5 separate regions of the Homo sapiens genome follow, and regions 2, 3, 4 and 5 are each linked to region 1. The links are contacts of gene promoters, found by promoter capture Hi-C in blood cells and fetal thymus (Javierre and others, 2016). All regions are on one chromosome and are shown on one strand. Each heading gives the region's core, a stretch centred on a gene start or on the middle of the fragment in contact. The rest is flanking DNA. Distances are from core to core; before and after follow the strand shown.

Region 1 (2,700 bases), core at 194-2,693:
TTATCTGGCCAGGGAGGATGGAGAGGGGATGGGCACTTGGTCTGAGTATTTTTTGTTTCTCATTCCAACAGAAATTACTAGATTTACCAAAACAAAGAGAAAAAAATATGATCCAAATTTAATCTGGTTGTGGAAGTGTGAGCAAAATCTACAAGTGGTAGTGTGATAGAGTCAGGCAGAGGAATTGACCATAGATAAGGTGCTCAGGACTCCTAGAGTCAGCTTCTGGTATGTGAGAAAGAAGTGAGAACAGAGCCCATGGCATATGAAGAAGATATTACAGAAAAAAGAAAGCTGCCTTCCACGCAAATCATTTCTTTACAAAGGCTTGTTAACTCCTGCAGTGCCCCAGCTCTAGTGACTAGGGGACCAATAGGTTCATTAATAACAGAATTGGGAGAGAACCTGGCATCTGCTTTGATCGAAGTGTGAGAATTAAGCAAGCCTAAAGTGTAGCAAGAGCAGGGAGGGAACTGAATGAAAGGTCAGTTCTAATCTGTAGGCTTTGGAGAAGCTTTGGGCTCTTGAGAGGGAGTAGAGTACAGAGGCTGAGCGGGGTGCCTGGGCAGGCATCTTATCATTACTTGCGAGTTGTGTGAACTCGGGCAAGTTAAACTTCTCTGTGCTTCTACTTTCTCCCCTGAAAACGAGGATATAATCTCCAAGGATTGTTGTGAGAACTAAATGACTTGGTTGATTCCTGAACAGCACGTTGTCCAGTGCCTAGCACATAGCAATCACTCAGGAAACGTCAGCCTTTATTATGGGCCTAGTGCACAAACTATTCTTACCAGTTATGCGACCTTGAGAACATTGTCTTCTCTGTGCCTTCATTTTCTCACCTGTAAAATGGAATAATAATAATTCTTAGAAGGATTCATGAAACAACGCCTAGTAGGGTGTCTGGCTTAGTTATCCCCCCGACAGTATTTTCTTCTAGTAAGAAGCTGAATGCAGCGGCAGACATCCTGGTTCGGGCCCCAGGAAGCTCAGCCGGGTTTAATGTGGATGAGGGTTTAATGATGTACACGCAGAAGTGTTTTGACAAATGAAGAAGGTCCTCATTCTTGGAACATGTGCCGGTTCTCCGAGGGAACTCCTAAAATGGCATAAGGTCACCTTTTTAAAGGCTGTAAGCTCATGTAGGAAAAGCTGAGCTAGATTCCTAAGGGCAGAGATGTGCTCACATTTCTTTGCATCCCTAGTTCCCAGCACAGTGCAAGGCGCTGCAAACATTTGCTGAACCCAGGGTCTCGTGTCTTGACTGTCCAGCAGAGGCCGCTCTGGGCCGGGGCTCTCGGGACCTGAGGGCTGAGAGAAGGAAGGCCAGGGGGTGGCCCAGTCATCGCCGCGGGGCCCGGGTGGGAGGGGTTTGGCAGCGGCAGGCGCGGCGGCGGCGGCGGAGGCGGAGGCGGCCCCGGGCTCGGGCGGCTGGGATGGAGCAGAAGAGCGCGGAGCACCGGAGGGCACGCAGCTGACGGAGCTGCGCTGCGTTCGCCTCGTTTGCCTCGCGCCCTCCACTGGAGCTGTTCGCGCCTCCCGGCTCCCACCGCAGCCCACCCGGCAGAGGAGTCGCTACCAGCGCCCAGTGCGCTCTGTCAGTCCGCAAACTCCTTGCCGCCCGCCCCGGGCTGGGCACCAAATACCAGGCTACCATGGTCTACAAGACTCTCTTCGCTCTTTGCATCTTAACTGCAGGTAATTGGCGCCATCCTCCCGGAAGGGCAGGTCGCGGGGTGGGCCCCAGTAGCTAGCGCGTGGTCGGGGCTGAAGCTAGGAGATCCGGCAGTGAGTCGCCGCGCGCCTCCGGGTGAGTGCGCAGGTGTGTGCGCACTTAGATTTGGGGTGACGTGCACCTTTGGCGGTCCCGAACCGTACTGAGGGAGGGGACGATGGGGTCCTTCCTGCCGCAGCCCGCGCCCGCACAAACTCCAGCTTTGTAGAACAGGTGGCTGTCTTAGCTGCGTGTTCGAACCCAGAGTGGGCAACACGGACTGCGCCTCAAGGCTTCTCTTTCTTCACCAGGGTTTCGGAGCGCACTCTGCCAAAGTACGGGACCAGACTTCTTGTTGCCGTTGGGCCCTGGAAGGGATGAAAAAGCCGGGGAAGTGGGGGTGGGAGGTTCGCATCTGGGAAGGCTTCAGCAGCGGCTGCGCGCCTGGCGGGGCTGGTTTGCTTTCTCGAGTCTTGGCGGTCTCTGATCTCCGGCGTCCCTTCCTAGTTATGCTTAGGATGATGTGGCACTAACAGCAGCGGCCCGGCCTTGGTCAGGCTCGCAATCGTCACTGGGGGTAGCAAGGCTACCTTCTGCCCCAGAACTCCCCAAAAACGTATCCCATAGAAGAAACTATTAACTTGGCTAAACTAGCATCCTCTCCCCTCCCCCTGCACCACCTCTGAAAGGCTTCGTAGGAGCCACTCTCGGGTTTCGGGACCACAGACGGCGACGACCTCTGGCAGCGGGGATGGGGAAGAGGGGAGCCAGATGACTGAGCTCGGCTTGGCGGGGACCGGGGAGAGATTCAGAAAGACGCTTTGAATCTAGAGTTCAGGTACCTATTTTTTCCAGAAAACGTCTCCCGAAAAGGGACAACTGGCTGTGGATATGGTGCTGCTGGGAAAAGTAGCCCGACTGCGCGGCCACTGGCATTTTCAGTTTAAATGTGACCCAAAGTCACATAGCGCAAACCGATTCTACTC
Region 2 (2,700 bases), core at 48-2,547, 650 kb after region 1:
CACAGATTAAAAGTAGAGCTTTTAAATCAAGACCAATTTTAATTTAACCACCACCTATAGACTTGTACATTGAAACCCCTTATTTGCCTCCTCTTGAATGTCCTACTCTTTTGAGGCTTAAATATCCAAGGTCAGAATTTCAGTATTAAGCTCCTCAGAGTAATAAAGAAAAGTTCTAGTTAAATTCTTCAGCTAAGTTCTAGTCAATGGCTTTGGAAAAAAAGCAACACACTATTAATTAGTTAAGGCAAAAAAAAAAAAAAAACTCACAAATTCTGGTTCCCTAAACAACCATTCTCTAAAATGATAAATGCAGAGCATGTGTAGAAACCCAGAAATCAAGAACCTGTAGCCAACTTAGTTTATTCCTCCCACCTAAAAAGTTTTGGATCCATGCATTGGAAAAGATGTGTGGAATGCAGGTAAATGATTTTGCACCTTGGTGAAAAGCTTTTGAGACGGCCTGAGTGTTTGAGGCCACAAGGAGACAGGAACTTCTCTGGATTCTAGTATCACCCTTAAACTACCAGGGGACAAAAGTGGAGTCCATAATAATGAACGTTCTCTCCCCAAACCCTCTTCAGCTGGGTAGTTCAATAGCAATTGGTCCACAGAAGAGTAATCAGTCCTGATCAATTCTGTATGGAGCATTAGCACCAGAATCTTACAATACATGGAACTAACCAATGCCAGAGTTGTAGTAAGTCATTCGAAAGAGGTTTCTCTGTCACGCTTGCATTAGTGTGGTTCTTAGAAGATCTGCAGGGAGGCCAGAGTCTCATAATACACTGATAGAATATCAAAAATAATTACAGAAGTCAAAGATACACATCTACCCATGGACAGGAGTTACATATTCACTTAATATCTAGAAACGTGTAAGATTGTTAAGTGTGTTTTCATAGTTAAATTCAGGTAAAGCAAACAGTTTCTCTTACTGATCCTAGTTTCTTCAATTTTCTTCAACTGATCCTAATTTTTATCACCTACCCCCAAGAAACCCACTCCTAAATAAATGTACACATTTATACAGAAAACACACAAAGTTCAATGCATGAGTAACATGGCCTTTTATAGTATTTCTCTCTGTCCCCCTTTTTTACACACTTTTAATCATGGTAACTTAAAATATACAATCTCCTAACAGTAAATACACATTCATGTAACAAGAACCATATCACTGTTATTCCACTGGATATGTCTTGAAATAGCATCGGTGGACGTGAAAGGTAATGGGATAACAGTTGGGGAGGGCCATTTGTTCAATCTTCCTTTGAAACATTTGGAAGTCTTTGTCTTTCCTTCTTCTAGAAGGCCTTCCTCAGAAAATGCAGGCAGTTCAGAAGGAAATGATCAAAACCATGAATCTCTCCTCTTGGGATATCAGCACTCTTGCTGCAAGAAGATGTCATCTCAAGTGCAAGAGCATCATCTAAAAGCACAGGAGGATATACCACCAACTATTTTACAAAAAATCTTTCTAAAAATTAATTTCTATCTCACTTGCTTTCTCACATCGTATATATTGATAACATTGGTGGGTACTATGTAGTTTAAGAAAACCTTAGATTTCAATTAGATGTATCAAAAGCAAATTTTTAAGACAATCTTTAGAATAATTACCAATCAAAACTATCTTGCGTATGGCTGGGTGCAGTGGCTCACGCCTGTAATCCCAACACTTTGGGAGGCCGAGGCGGGCAGATCACCTGAGGTTGGGAGTTCAAGACCAGCCTGACCAACATGGAGAAACCCCATCTCTACTAAAAATACAAAAAAATTAGCCCGGCATGGTGGCCCATGCTTGTAATCCCAGCTACTCAGGAGGCTGAGGCAGGAGAATCACTTGAACCCGGGAGGTGGAGGTTGCAGTGAGCAGAGATCACGCCATTGCACTCCAGCCTGGGCAACAAGAGCGAAACTCCGTCTCAAAAAAAAGAAAAACTATCATGTGTAACACACATCTCCTTTTATGCAAATAATGACTAATTTTGACAAAATGCATCCAAGTTTTGCAGACCCTGTAGTTTACACGGTTTGTATGAATTAGTTGTTCATTGCTCAACATGAATTAACTCAAATGAATGCATTGCAAAGACTCTCCCACGGCCTTGAAAGGACCTGTGCAAATGAAAGATCAAAACTTAAGCTTTGTTCACTTCACAGTACATTCACCTTTGATGTCACAGATGCTCAAAATGCTTTGTAAAGGTTAACAGATTAATTCCAATAATACAGTTAGGGGCTGGGCATGGTGACTCATGACTGTAATCCCAGCACTTTGTGAGGCCAAGGTGGGCAGATCACCTGAGGTCAGGAGTTCAAGACCAGCCTAGCCAACATAGTGAAACCCCATCTCTACTAAATATACAAAAATTAGCTGGGCGTGGTGGCACACACCTGTGATCCCAGCTACTCAGGAGGCTGAGGCATGAGGATCACTTGGAGGTTGCAGTAAGCTGAGATTGTGCCACTGCACTCCAGCCTGGGAGACAGAGCAAGACACCGTCTCAAAAAAATAAATAAATACAGTTGTGAGAATGTGGGAATTTATCATCATAATATTTTACATAATGAGATATTAAACATTGAATGACTTGCTTGAGCAAATAAATTATCATTCAAAATGGTCTGATTGGCCAGACATGGTGGCTCACACCTCTAATTCCAGCACTTAGGGAGGCCAAGACGGGCAGATCA
Region 3 (2,700 bases), core at 124-2,623, 580 kb after region 1:
CATTCTTCACAAGTCTGTTGGGCCTAAAAAAGAAACATAATTAAAAACTGCAATAAACTAAACATTTTGAGTTACCATTTGAATATCTAGAACTTATGTTCAACTATATGCAGTTTATTTTTATAAGTTTTGAAACACCTAAACCAAAGATATTGCTTATTCTAGAAGTTAAAGAAATCTTATTTATGATACTTTTGATTAAATTTTTTCAAACCACCTTAATACAGCTTTTAAAAAGAAAATAGAAATGTCATAAAATCTTACATGTTGAATTTTTTCACAGTTTATGCACTGCACTTCCTTCACTTTAAAGCGATCTAGTTGATGATCTTCATTGTTATCATGACACAAGCGGCAAGTATAAAGCTTGTCACAGCAAGGTGCCTAACACCCACGGAGAAAAAAGAGATATAGTAAGAAGCAAAAGAAACTAAGTGTGCAATACAAAAAGAAAATTTCTTCCTCCTCCTCCTGGATGGAACTGAAAGATTACAACCAATAGATCAGTTGCTAAACTGATCCTAAACATAACATTTCACTAGTTTCTTGGCATATTTTATGTTAATTCTTCCCTTCAACATCACTACGTCTGTATGAAGTTGAACACAACTTTAAAACAAAAGAATTATGAAGGAAATCCCTAGATTGAAACACTAATCCCACAACACCTGATATGCTTTGGCTGTGTTCCCACCCAAATCTCAACTTGAAATGTATCTCCCAGAATTCCCACGTGTTGTGGGAGGGACTTAGAAGGAGGTAACTGAATCATGGGGGCCAGACTCTCCCGTGCCATTCTCGTGATAATGAATAAAATCTCATGAGATCTGATGGGTTTATCAGGAGTTTCCACTTTTGCTTCTTCCTCATTTTCTATTGCCACCACCATGTAAGAAGTGCCTTTTGTCTCCCGCCATGATTCTCAGGCCTCCCTAGCCATGTGGAACTGTAAGTCCAATTAAACCTCTTTTTCTTCCCAGTCTTGGGTATGTCTTTATCAGCAGTGTGAAAACAGACTAATATAACACCCCAATTTCATTCTGAGCCTAAACAGCAAACAGGCAACCTCTTCTTAGACATTTCCAGATAAATTCATTTACATTAAAAATAATAAAGATTATATTCTTATTTTACTAGCTTTTATTAATCATCAACCTCATATCTAATATTGCACAAAATGCAACAAATGTAAGAGACAGCCCTTGTTTTCAAACACGGCAAAGACTGCCAGTTGTCCACCAAAATCTATCCTCTCCTTCCTGGGCACAATTGTTCAGCTATATCAGACAGATGGCCACATGCCCTAAAACATGACAAAATGATACAACAGAAAAATCTCATCCCTGGAGTGACCATGTGGAGCAAAGCCTCATCACCAACCTGCATCACTCGCCTTGGAATTGTTAAATGGAAAGAAATAAAACCTTTACTCTTTAATCTACATCACTGTTGGGTTTTTTCATTACAGCAACTTTACCATTACAAGTATATCAAGAGATTTCCAGGCCAGTGACTTTCCAATACACTGTGACCTTGCAGATCCACTCATTTCTGAAGGCTTCCTATGCCTTGACTTACCATAACGTAGTTCATTCCTTAAAGATTTTAACACTTAACTGGCTTCCTTTTTCTGCAACTCTCAGTTCCTTAACTTTGTCATTTCCAATAACCTTGTCCTCCAACCCACTATTCTCATAGTTATACCGCAGAACAGTAGTTCTCAAATGGTTTGGTCTCAGGATCCCTTCACACTTTTTAAAATTACTGAGAATCCCAAAGAGCTTTGGTTTATGTGGATTTTATCTATTGACATATACCACATCATAAATTAAAAAGAATAGGTTTTTAAAATATTACTTCTTTTTAAAAGTAACAAACTCATTACTTGTTAACATAAATAACATGTTTTAATGAAAAATAACTATATTTTTCCCCCCAAACAGCTGAATTCTTCTATCTGCTTATGCATTCAAACAGTTGTGGCTGAAGTACAAAAAGAAACTCTGGCCTCACACAAATATGTACACTGGAAAAGAAAGGAGTATTTTAATAGCCTTTTTGGAGAATTATGGATATCATTCTCTGATATTACACTAGAACAACAACTCTTAAAGGGTAGTTGCAACATGAAATCTGAAATCGTATCAAGGAATATGATTGATATGATGCCTCTTTTCTTCCTTGGTTACATTAAAATCTATTGCTCTATCTTGCACTTCAAATGGATGTTTTACTCATGCATTGGTCATCTGGAGAATACCAGTTCAGTGAGTTATTTACATCTTCTAAATGTTCACACATTTAACATGCAATATCAAAAAATCATATTCATTAAAAGTCTTTAGGTATTGAAGAAAATCTCACCAAAAAAAGTCTTTTAAAAAGCTTCCAACCTCACAAAAGCTAGTAAAAGTTTTCCAAAATTCTAATTTTTGTGTGAAAGCTTGAATTTTATCACTGGCAACAAATACTGTCATTTTCATTTGTAGTGAGTCTCACTTTTCTCCTTTTTGAGAAAATGTCTGCCAACTACCCAAATGTGAATGACTACAATTTTTTCAAGTAAAAAATGCTGTTCCATGAAAAAAAGCAACTAGTTCACTTTACAATCCAATTTGCACAAGAGCTTTTCCTCAAGACAACCCTCTAATTTCAGTTTGCAGAAGTGTTTGATCAAAACTTCCCATGTCATTGAACAGC
Region 4 (2,700 bases), core at 117-2,616, 520 kb after region 1:
CATGCAACAGTCTGTTTTCCTACACTTCACCCCTTAACATTGGCCCTTACAATCTCACATACCTGCGTCTTTCACAATAGTCCCTGCACCAAGAGGGAGGGTGCTTAATGTTATATAGCTTTAATAGTGGTGCATTGGCAATGGAAAACAGAGCAGGCTCAGCAGGACTCCAAATGAAGGAGATTCACATGCTTTGTTGAATCATCTCTAGTCTTTGGAATACCATGGTTCTGGTTTCCTTGGAAGAAGAAAAACAATGAGAGATACATAACATTAGTAATGTGAATAGCAGAAATAAAATGCACACAAGGATTACAATCAAAGAGAGAAATTCTATGTCAGAATAGAAAGAAAGAAAACCTTATTCCATTAGGGAGCCAACTAAAAACATCATGAAGAAAATTAAAACCGGGTTCTTCTTTAGAGATTTATTGTAGCCAGGAAATAATCCAAGATTTAACCCAAATTGTAGATAAATAATAAAAACTTAAAAACAATGGTCAGGGTTAAAATCTAATAAGCAGGTGTGCTTATTAGATATGGTTTTGTTCTGAAACATAATTTTCCTCTCTTCAGTCCCCCTTTTCTACCAAAAAGAAATAGTAAGACCAATTTATTTGCAAAATAAATTTTAGACTTATTATACTTGACCTGATAATTTGCATAAAGTGCAAGAATAGCAATTGGCCATATAGGCTCCTTTAAATTTGCCTTTGCTGGAACTTTTTCATAAGGATTTTGAGATTAAACTTTTAAAAGCCTCTAGATGTTTAGAAGCCAAGCCAAGGATTTGCCATCCTGTAATGCCTGTATAAATTGGATGAATTCCTTTCTTCTCAAGGTCTCAAAATATCTTGAGGTTCCTGGGCCTGTCAGAAAGTTAACACTCTTTACTTACCACAAGGTCAGGAATCTTGTAAGGTCAGGAATCTTGTAAGTGAAGCATATAGACAAGGTACCGGGCCAGTTTTCCAAGGGGGTTCGTATTGGCTCTGTAAAGTCAACCTCAATTCCTCAAAACTGTTTGGTCATATCTGAAAATTACCAATGTTTCCAGTGTGTCCTATTATAAAAGAAAACATTCTTTTTTTAATTATTATTATACTTTAAGTTTTAGGGTACATGTGCACAATGTGCAGGTTAGTTACATATGTATACATGTGCCATGCTGGTGTGCTGCCCCCATTAACTCGTCATTTAGGATTAGGTGTATCTCCTAATGCTATCCCTCCCCTCTCCCCCTACCCCACAACAGTCCCCAGAGTGTGATGTTCCCCTTCCTGTGTCCATGTGTTCTCCTTGTTCAATTCCCATCTATGAGTGAGAACATGCGGTGTTTGGTTTTTTATCCTTGCGATAGTTTACTGAGAATGATGATTTCTAATTTCATCCATGTCCCTACAAAGAACATGAACTCATCATTTTTATGGCTGCATAGTATTCCATGGTGTATATGTGCCACATTTTCTTAATCCAGTCTATCATTGATGGACATTTGGATTGGTTCCAAGTTTTTGCTATTGTGAATAGTGCCGCAATAAACATACGTGTGCATGTGTCTTTTTAGCAGCATGATTTATAGTCCTTTGGGTATATACCCAGTAATGGGATGGCTGGGTCAAATGGTATTTCTAGTTCTAGATCCCTGAGGAATCGCCTCACTGACTTCCACAATGGTTGAACTAGTTTACAGTCCCACCAACAGTGTCAAAGTGTTCCTATTTCTCCACATCCTCTCCAGCACCTGTTGTTTCCTGACTTTTTAATGATTGCCATTCTAACTGGTGTGAGATGGTATCTCACTGTGGTTTTGATTTGCATTTCTCTGATGGCCAGTGATGATGAGCATTTTTTCATGTGTCTTTTGGCTGCATAAATGTCTTCTTTTGAGAAGTGTCTGTTCATATCCTTTGCCCACTTTTTGATGGGGTTGTTTGTTTTTTTCTTGTAAATTTGTTTGAGTTCATTGTAGATTCTGGATATTAGCCCTTTGTCAGATGAGTAGGTTATGAAAATTTTCTCCCATTTTGTAGATTGCCTGTTCACTCTGATCGTAGTTTCTTTTGCTATGCAGAAGCTCTTTAGTTTAATTAGATCCCATTTGTCAATTTTGGCTTTTGTACATTCTTACTGAAGTAATGCAAATAAATATATTGTTGTAAAAATAATAATATTCTTGAATAGTTTAGAAATTTTGGAGAAATTCGGTACAGAGAAAGGTAAATGTTTCCATTTTGCTCATAAAAGTATAATTTACCCAATGGCTGTAAGCAACTTCTCTTTTTTTACTGTAGGTAAAATTTTCTTTTGTTGTCATTGTTTGTTTTTTGTTTGTTTGTTTTGTTTTGTGTTGAGACGAGGTTTTACTCCTGTTGCCCAGTCTGGAGAGCAATGGTGTAATCTTGGCTTACTGCAACCTCCACCTCCTGGGCTCAAGCAATTCTCCTGCCTTAGCCTTCTGAGTAGCTGGGATTATAGGCGCATGCCACCCCGCCCAGCTGATTTTTGTATTTTCTGTAGTGACAGGTTTTTGCCATGTTGCCCAGGCTGGTCTCCAACTACTGAGCTTAAGCAATCCACCCACCTCGGCCTCCCAAAGTGCATGGATTACAGGCGTTAGCCACCACACCCAGCCATAAAGTTTTCTTGACTCTGGAAAACAGTATATAAAAAGAATCAGCAATGTTTCAAACAAAAAGT
Region 5 (2,700 bases), core at 12-2,511, 620 kb after region 1:
AATACTACTCAGCCATAAAAAAATGAAATAATGTCTTTTGCAGCAACTTGGATGGAGCTGGAGGCCATTATTCCAAGTTAAGTAACTCAGGAATGGAAAACCAAATATCGTATGTTCTCACTTATACGTGGGAGCTGAGCTATGAGGACACAAAGACATACAGAATGATATAATGGACTTTAGAGGCTAGGGGTGGGGGAGGTTGGGAAGGAGGTGAGGGATAAAAGACTACATATTGGGTGCAGTGTACACTGCTCGGGTGACGAGTGCACTAAAATCTCAGAGTTCGCCACCATAGAGTCCATCCATGTAACCCAAAACCACTCGTACCCCAAAAGATTGAAATTTAAAAAAAATTTTTTTTAAAAGCATCTCCTTAATTCACAAATTCCTCTGAGGGTAGTACCACAAGTCCCATTTTACAGGTGAGGCCCCTGAGGCTTCAGCAAGTCTCAGGGACTCACCACAGTCACTCAGCTAGTAAGAAAAGGAACAAAGACTGGAATTTTACCTGACTCCAAGGTCCATGTTCTTAATCACCTGTGACAATCCCCTCTCATATATCCAGCAGCTGATGAAGTCTTTCTCTCAGGAAACCAACTGGACATAGACATGTCATGTCCATTTTATATGCAATATGGTGAATCAGGAGGAGCCGTGAAAGGACGACTCACTAAGTTACTCTCCCAATGTTTATGTTTGTTTAGACAGTGACCATCATGACCACTAGGGAAGATCACTTTCTGATTCTGCTGCCCTCACCTCCTGGACAAAAGCAGAGCAGAGAAGCAGCATAAACCCTGGTTGGGGGCCTAAGAATGATCCCCAACTCTCCACTGCAAACCACCGGGGTCAGGAAGCCTCCGGGTAATGCCCTCTCCCTCTTGTTTCGCTTTTTAAGTAGGTAAGCTGCACAGAGAGAAGCACTGTTGCATATTTCTGGACAGCTTATTTCTCTTGCAGAGGAAGACTGATATACACAACTAAAAGGCACTAACATGGGAGAAGATTTGAGAGATTAGAAGGATGGTGAAGGTGCGGTTGTCCAAAATCCCCCTCTGGGGGGAGATGATTGATATCTGGCTGTCATTCCAAGAAGCTTCTGGTTGACAAATACTGTCTGGTATTTCCTTGCTGATTTCTTACCCTCACACCGCAAGCCCTGATCTCTGTGGTCCACTGTGCAAATGCAAATTACCTGAATCAGGCTGCTGGTGACTCACCAGCTCCCCTTTAAAGCAACATCAGGTTCAACGCAGTGACTGCTCAGTAGAAGCCATGGCTCGCAGACACTGCTTCTCCTACTGGTTACTGGTATGCTGGTTGGTGGTAACTGTGGCAGAAGGTAAGGGTTTTGCTTTTATTCTACTGTGGGTCCACTAATTAATAAGTTGTAGGAAAAGACAAAACTGGCTCCATGATTATACGTTCCCATAAATTGGAAATATTTACCTCAGCTTCCATCAGCCTGTGTGGTTAAAGAGAAGGAAGTTGGATTTTGTCACCTGAAGACCTTGGTCCTCGTCTCAGCAATAGCTCTGTGACTTTAGACACACTTAAAATCTCTGAGTATCAGATTCCTCATATGTGAAGTGACAACATTAACAATATCCATCGTTATGGGGTTTGCAAGGACCAAATGAGCTATCATCTGTGAAAAACTCTTCAAGCTAAAAACACTGTACAAATACTAGTTATTATGGTTACAAAGCTAACAATTCCACTTTGAATTACAGCACTGTCCACTTTCTATCTCCAGCAGCATATTAATTTGCACATGGTGGGTATTTAGTCTTTGTTCATTGCTTTAATTAATCACATCTATTGAGCTGCATTTTGGTGCCACAGAGGTGGGCACAGGTTTCTTTCTTTAGGATTTTATTAGATTCCATTTCTCAACTGTTCCTATTCTCTTTCTTTGTTCCCACTACAAAATGTGTCCTGAGCCTTACAATTGGTTTGCAAACCCCTAGGAAAAGGAAAGAAAAGGCTGGGGAAGGGATGAAAAGAGGGAAATACAAGGGGAGGAAATCTTGGGGAGCCTAGATCTAACCTTTTCTTCAGTTTATTTTAATTCCAAAACTAGATGCTGTTTACGGAAGATGGACCTAGGAGTCAAACAGAGCACTTCACCCCTTTCACATGTCTTGGGTAGGGGGCTTTGCAGGGGCTCAGCCAAACCCTGCTCATCCCCAGACAGATTCCCCGTTCCCATCCCTCAGAGCTCACAATAGACAGGAGGAGGGGAGAGACATAAGAGCTGGTTGTGGAACACTCAGAAACCCCCTGATCCAACCTCTGCACACACTCTGGCAATCAGGGGACAGGGCATAGATTATGAACAAAACCTGCCCCCATATCCCAAGGCAAGGCCCCCAAGCCTCACCTACTAAAAGTGACATCTAAAAGAAGCATCATAAAACAAAACTAGCCACCTGCCACTTTCTCTGCAAAAAGTGAACCGCTCTTCAGGAGGCTTTGTAAACACATAGCTAAACAAGTTATAATGAGATTAGAGATTTATTTTATTCACATCTTAAAAACACCCACTGAGGCTGGGTACAGTGGCTCACACCTGTAATCCCAGCATTTTGGGAGGCCGAGGTGGGCAGATCACCTGAGGTCGGGAGTTCAAAACCAGCCTGACCAACATGGAGAAACCCCATCTCTACAAAAAATACAAAATTAGCCAGGTGTGGT

Evidence for each region. Contacts are between HindIII fragments. The CHiCAGO score rates a contact against its expected background, and 5 or more counts as called.
Region 2: a contact is called between a fragment that was not itself captured here and the fragment with the promoter of PARM1 in region 1, in 2 of 17 cell types (endothelial precursors and megakaryocytes). The highest score is 6.9, in endothelial precursors.
Region 3: a fragment that was not itself captured here is called in contact with the fragment with the promoter of PARM1 in region 1 in 1 of 17 cell types (naive B cells); the score reaches 6.1 in naive B cells.
Region 4: a fragment that was not itself captured here is called in contact with the fragment with the promoter of PARM1 in region 1 in 1 of 17 cell types (M0 macrophages); the score reaches 5.2 in M0 macrophages.
Region 5: the fragment with the promoter of ODAPH here is called in contact with the fragment with the promoter of PARM1 in region 1 in 2 of 17 cell types (monocytes and M1 macrophages); the score reaches 5.2 in monocytes.

Annotation. Positions count from the first base shown.
Region 1 is chr4:74,931,673-74,934,372 of GRCh38, forward strand. It overlaps PARM1 (prostate androgen-regulated mucin-like protein 1), which reads left to right and starts at 1,444. Exons shown (of 4, transcript NM_015393.4): 1 at 1,444-1,698. The coding sequence starts at 1,656. RefSeq lists silencers at 1,278-1,587, 2,168-2,217 and an enhancer at 2,328-2,377. The HindIII fragment of the contact is 7,366 bases long and covers 513-2,700 here.
Region 2 is chr4:75,577,747-75,580,446 of GRCh38, forward strand. CDKL2 (cyclin dependent kinase like 2) reads right to left here. Exons shown (of 14, transcript NM_001330724.2): 14 at 1-1,432. Among named protein-coding and RNA genes, the nearest start is that of ODAPH, 23 kb to the left of the region's middle. The HindIII fragment of the contact is 1,699 bases long and covers 449-2,147 here.
Region 3 is chr4:75,508,913-75,511,612 of GRCh38, forward strand. It overlaps RCHY1 (ring finger and CHY zinc finger domain containing 1), which reads right to left. Exons shown (of 9, transcript NM_015436.4): 2 at 265-384; 3 at 1-23. Among named protein-coding and RNA genes, the nearest start is that of RCHY1, 4.1 kb to the right of the region's middle. The HindIII fragment of the contact is 2,019 bases long and covers 365-2,383 here.
Region 4 is chr4:75,454,793-75,457,492 of GRCh38, forward strand. LOC107986230 (a long non-coding RNA gene) reads right to left here and starts at 1,074. Exons shown (of 3, transcript XR_001741514.2): 1 at 899-1,074; 2 at 63-238. The HindIII fragment of the contact is 3,146 bases long and covers 1-2,700 here.
Region 5 is chr4:75,554,805-75,557,504 of GRCh38, forward strand. It overlaps ODAPH (odontogenesis associated phosphoprotein), which reads left to right and starts at 1,262. Exons shown (of 2, transcript NM_178497.5): 1 at 1,262-1,345. The coding sequence starts at 1,279. RefSeq lists a silencer at 995-1,289. The HindIII fragment of the contact is 3,725 bases long and covers 1,098-2,700 here.